2 separate regions of the Homo sapiens genome follow, and region 2 is linked to region 1. The links are contacts of gene promoters, found by promoter capture Hi-C in human tissues and cell types (Jung and others, 2019). All regions are on one chromosome and are shown on one strand. Each heading gives the region's core, a stretch centred on a gene start or on the middle of the fragment in contact. The rest is flanking DNA. Distances are from core to core; before and after follow the strand shown.

Region 1 (2,700 bases), core at 168-2,667:
CTCATGCCTGGAATCCCAGCAGTTTGGGAGGCCAAGGCGGGTGGATCACCTGAGGTCGGGAGTTCGAGACCAGCCAGGGCAACATAGTGAAACCCCCATCTCTACAAAAAATATAAAAATTAGCTGGGTGTGGTGGTGTGTGCCTGTATTCCCAGCTACTCAGGAGGCTAAAGTCAGAGAATCCCTTGAACCCGGGAGGCAGAGGATCCAGTGAGCCGAGATTGTGCCACTGCACTCCAACCTGGGCGTCAGAGTGAGACCCTGAAAAATAAAAAAAAAATTGAAGATAAATTTATTTACCGTGTGTAAATAAACTGCACTGTAAAAAGAATACCTTTCACAGAATTCTAAAACATTAAATTCCAGTCTGTGACTGATGTAGGATGTTAAATTGCAGAGTTCATAAACTTTTATTTGAGAGAGAGTTTCACTCTGTTGTGCCCAGGCTGGAGTGCAGTGGCGCGATCTCGTCTCACTGCAACCTCTTTCAAGCAATTCTCTTGCCTCATAACTTTCTGAAAAGGGAGGAGCAGTAGGTCTAAATGGAATTCATTCTGCTGCTCCTACTTTTGTGAAGCAGTACTTCTAGTAAATATTTTATAGAGAAACATTTAATGCAAGTATGTGTTTCCTTTCTGAAACTGCTGATGTGAAGAGTAAGAGAAAAAGAGGCAGACTTCTCAGGAAAAACCACGTCTTCAGTATGTTTTTAGGTTTTGTCCATTTGATGTAAGAGCTTTCTCTTACTCTTGTTTGCTCTGTCAAGCTTTAGCTGTTCTTCAGAGTGTCGCTGTACAGGAAGCTGATGACATTCAGTACATACCTAAATAACAGTTTATAAGCTGGGTATGGTGGTGCGCGCCTGTAGTCTGAGCTACCCAGGAGGATCACTTGAGCCCAGGAGGTTGAGGCTGTATAGTAAGCTGTGATTGCACCACTGCACTGCAGCCTAGGTGACAAAGTGACACCTTCTCAAAATACAGTAAAATAAAATAAAAAACAACAGTTTATTTTTCTGACTCCAGTGCAAGGATGAAGTCAAGTATTTCCTTTTAAACGGCCAATTACATGTTTAGAAAGCCCACCAGGATTTGGAGAGAGAAACACCAACATAATTTTAGGCAACTTGTTCCTGAACTTGAGAAAAAATAATGGAATTCTCTGAGATTTACAGCCAAAGAGAAAACAAAGTATCCTCTACTGTAAGAATTTTAAATCTTAACATTTAAAAGATCTTACATAGGTGAATAGGGAAGACTTAGATTTTTTTAATAGTTTGCTCTGATCAGACTTGTTTAACATGTCCCCTCCACCAAAATTAATCAAATGTGTTCTGAAATATTTAGTTTGATATAAAATTATTCTCTGAAATATCTATTTAAATAAAACCAAAAGGTATTCAAATTTTGCCTGACTTAATACTTAAGCTTCTGCTGTTCATTTTAAGTCAGCATGGTTTTTGGCAAGTAAAAAAGAAAAGCAAAGTGTTGTTATTTAATAATAATCTAACTGGGTTTTTGGGGGGGTTCAGAACACTCTCAGCTCTTTACCACCTGCTTTTGAGACTATATTTCATCTTATAGAAATCAGATTTTTTTTTTTTTTTTTTTTTTTTTCTGGAGACAGTCTCGCCCTGTTCCCCAGGCTGGAGTGCAGTGGCGCGATCTCAGCTCACTGCAAGCTCCTCCTCCTGGGTTCACACCATTCTCCTGCCTCGGCCTCCTGAGGAGCTGGGACTATAGGCGCCCGCCACCACACCCGGCTAATTTTTTGTACTTTTAGTAGAGATGGGGTTTCACCGTGTTAGCCAGGATGGTCTCGATCTCCTGACCTCGTGATCCGCCCACCTCGGCCTCCCAAAGTGCGGGGATTACAGGCATGAGCCACCACGCCCGGCCTAGAAATCAGAATTTTAAAGTTTACCCTGAAAATGTCTTAAATAGTAGGGTGATTTGGCATATTTGAAGAAATTTTGTTTTTCTGACAGCTATAAGTTGTTCACAAATAGTGGACTTGGATCTATTCATAGCAGATGGAAAGAGCTTGTATGGCACAGGTGAAAGACACCCAAATTTAAAAAATTAAGGCCAAAAGGAACTGTTGCACCTCCTTCCGAGGTTTGGACCCTGTCACGTTGTGAATTCCCCAGGGCCTTCTTGCACAGGGGGCTCCCTCTTGGGCTGGCACAAATGTCACGTGACATTCCCCACATGCTCTTGTTGCCACATAAAAAATGTAAAAAGAGGTCGGGCGCGGTGGCTGACGCCTGTAATCCCAGCACTTTGGGAGGCTGAGGCATGTGGATCACAAGGTCAGGAGATCGATACCATCCTGGCTAACACGGTGAAACCCCGTCTCTACTAAAAGAAAAAAAATACAAAAAAAATTAGCCAGGTGTGGTGGTGGTGGGCGCCTGTAGTCCCAACTACTTGGGAGGCTGAGGCAGGGAATGGCGTGAACCTGGGAGGCGGAGCTTGCAGTGAGGCGAGAGCGCGCCACTGCACACTCCAGCCTGGGAGACAGAGCGAGACTCCGTCTCAAAAAAAAAAAAAAAAAAAGTAAAAAGAGAGACGGCCAGGCACCGTGGCTCATGCCGTTAATCCCAGTACTTTGGGATACCAAGGCAGGAGGATTGCATGAGCCCAAAAGCTTGAGACCAGCCTTTGTAAGGTAGAAAGGCCCTGTCTTTTGAAAAAGAAT
Region 2 (2,700 bases), core at 118-2,617, 210 kb after region 1:
CTTGCCGGCGCTCCTGCGCTGCGGCCGCTCTGCCCCAATCCTGCAGGTGCCTATCAGAGGCCTGTCTGGCACCTCTGCTTTCTTCCTCCATGGGTTCCGAACTCAGAGAGGAGACGCGGGATTACTCACCACTCCCCTCCACTCGCATGCATGCTCAGACACAAACACAGCCTCTCTGACGTGGCTTCCACGGAGCCCCAAAGTGGGAGAGCCAAGTGCAAACTATCAGGCCGCGGACGATCAAGAGCTCACCTGTCCGGCCGTCCAGTCGCCCGCCGGGCCGCCTTGAGGCTCCTGGGCTGCAGCCCTGATGCCTGGAAACTTTGGGACTGGCCTCTAGCCTCGCTGGGCTTCCAACCCTGTGGCCGAGGGGAGATGCCAAGATGCACAGTTAGCACCTCGACCCGCGGCTCGGTCGCCTGTCTGCCCCCGGGGCTGCCCGCCGGCTCCAGGTCCACTCGGGCCCACGGCCGCGACACTCAGGGCCGCCGCCTGCCCGGATGGGCTCCCTGGGGTCTGAGCGCGCAGGAGCCGCCAGCGCCGGGCCCGTAATTGCGTGCGCCCGGGGTCTGGCGGCCGCGGCTCGCAGACGTCAGGAGGCTCCGGGACGCGCACGGGCGCCGGCGCAGGGGAACGGGCGGGCCAGGGGCGGGCACGGCGGGCACCCCCACCCGGAGCGCGCCCCGCCCCCTGTCATTCGTGCCCGTGGCTCGCGGAGGCCGCCCGGCCCTGTCCGCTGCCAGACCTTGCCAGGGCCGCGCAGTACCTGCCGACCCCAACTTGCCCGGACGTTTCCGTCCCGCCCGCTCCGCTCGGGGGCGCGGGACCGCCGGCCAGTCCGTCTGTCGGTCTGTCCCGGCGTTCGAGGCCACCCACCGGCCCCGACTGCTCAGCGGCGGCCAGGCCAGGCCAGAGCGCCTGCCGCGCGCCGCAGCCCACCCGGCCCGGACGACGACCCCAGCGCCGACCCCAGCGCCGCTGGCCCCGGGCCGCGCGAGGCCTGCCGGGAGCTGGAGTCCCGCGCGGGTGGCCGGACCACAACTCCCAGGAGGCCCCGCGGCGGCGCTGCGCGCGCAGCCCCAGCCCATCCCGTGCGGACCCTACGCCGAGTCCAGCCCGGGGCTGCTGGGCCAGCGGGAGCGGGAACCGGACGGCGCTCGCGTTCTGCCAGAGCGGAGAACGACTCGGGGACGGTGCGGAGGACCAGGGGAGGAGATCCGCGCCCGCACGCACCATCAGCCGAGAGGACGGCCCGCATCGCGCCAGTGACCTAGGAGCGACTCGGGGACGGCTTCGGGCTCCCAGGCCCTCCTGGGCCACCGGGCACTGAGGAGAGCGGCGGCTGGAAACTGTGGGACCCGAAGGGCGGGAGCCCAGGGCCCGCCCCCGCCGGAGCGCCCCCGCCATGGCCACGCCCCCGCCACGGGGATGGGCAGGGCAAGCACCGGAAGTGCGTCACGCGGGAGCGTCTGCGTCGCCTACCCTGCGTGGCGCAGCTAGGTTCCGAGCGGCTTAGCCTCCGGGCGCCTGCGCAGTGGCGGTCCTAGAGACGCACTCGGTTGCCATAGAGACGGGGGCTTGGGAGCGACGTCGCGCTCGCTGGCACTGGCGGCACTTGCCGCGCCGCAGCCACCTCTTTCCGACTCCACCAGTGCGGGCCCTATCCGGGGTTTTGAGTCACGCAGACCTGGACACAGCGAGAAACGGCAGTCCGGGCCCGTCCTCCCGCCCCGGGTTCTGCACCCCAGAGTTGGACGCTTGCTTCTCGCTTTCTCCTGAGAGAAGTCTCCGCGTTTCTGAACAATGCACTGCTAGTTTCTCATTTCTTTCTTTCTTTCTTTTTTTTTTTTTGGAGACGGAGCCTCGCCCTGTCGCCCAGGCTGGAGTGCAATGGCGCGATCTCGGCTCATTGCAACCTCCGCCTCCAGGGCTTAAACTATTCTCTTGCTTCAGCCTCCCGAGCAGCTGGGACTACAGGCATGCGCTACCACGCACAGCTAATTTTTGCATTTTTAGTCAAGACGGGGTTTCACCATTTTGGCCAGGCTGATTTCGAACTCCTGACCTCGTGATCTGCCCTCCTAGGGCTCCCAACGTGCTGGGATTATAGGCGTGAGCCACCGCGCCCGGCCTCTCATTTCTTAATTGTAGACATTGCGTACTTCCGGAGAAGGTCCCTGAGAACCTGGCTGATCTTCCCCGCTGCACCCCTCACGTGGTCCTGTTAGCTCCCAAACTGTCAACCTGAAAGGAAACCCAGAGGCAGGCTCTCCAGGACAAGTGAGTTAATCTGGGAATCGCAGGGGGTTGCAGCCTAGGCTGTTCGTGCCATGACAGATCATAGGCCTATCTGAGAGGGCCGGGCGAAGGGGAAAATACAGATGAGCTCACAAAAGTTGTTTTGTAACAAAAACCACTGGCTGTGGGCGCTTGCTGCAGGAGTGGGCGTTAGCTTGTTGTTGGAGAGAGCCTTACCAGGCCGACGTCCTTGTGCAAGCTGCTTATCTAGAATACTGCAGTCCTGAGGAATTTCCCTGCAGTAAGTCCGGTTACAGGCAAACGTGCAGGACGTGCAGGAGCGTCTTGTGAGGAGGCCTGCTGCAGGTATTCCTGCATGAGAGCTCCCCCTTCGTGGCCTCCCGACTCCATTTGTTTAGGGATTGGTGGAAGTAGTTCCATTTTGGTACCTGCAACTTTCAC

Evidence for each region. The method cuts DNA at HindIII sites, captures the fragments that hold promoters and counts their contacts. A contact is called where the count stands out against the background at its distance.
Region 2: the fragment with the promoter of MIB2 here is called in contact with a fragment that was not itself captured in region 1 in 2 of the 25 tissues and cell types used here (bladder and spleen).

What each region holds. Positions count from the first base shown.
Region 1 is chr1:1,822,159-1,824,858 of GRCh38, reverse strand. All of the region lies in intron 3 of GNB1 (G protein subunit beta 1), which reads left to right. Among named protein-coding and RNA genes, the nearest start is that of NADK, 45 kb to the right of the region's middle. The HindIII fragment of the contact is 4,641 bases long and covers 1-2,700 here.
Region 2 is chr1:1,614,167-1,616,866 of GRCh38, reverse strand. MIB2 (MIB E3 ubiquitin protein ligase 2) reads right to left here and starts at 1,367. Exons shown (of 20, transcript NM_001170687.4): 1 at 1,234-1,367; 2 at 253-359. RefSeq lists silencers at 433-522, 553-1,602 and an enhancer at 1,703-1,872. The HindIII fragment of the contact is 4,042 bases long and covers 1-2,700 here.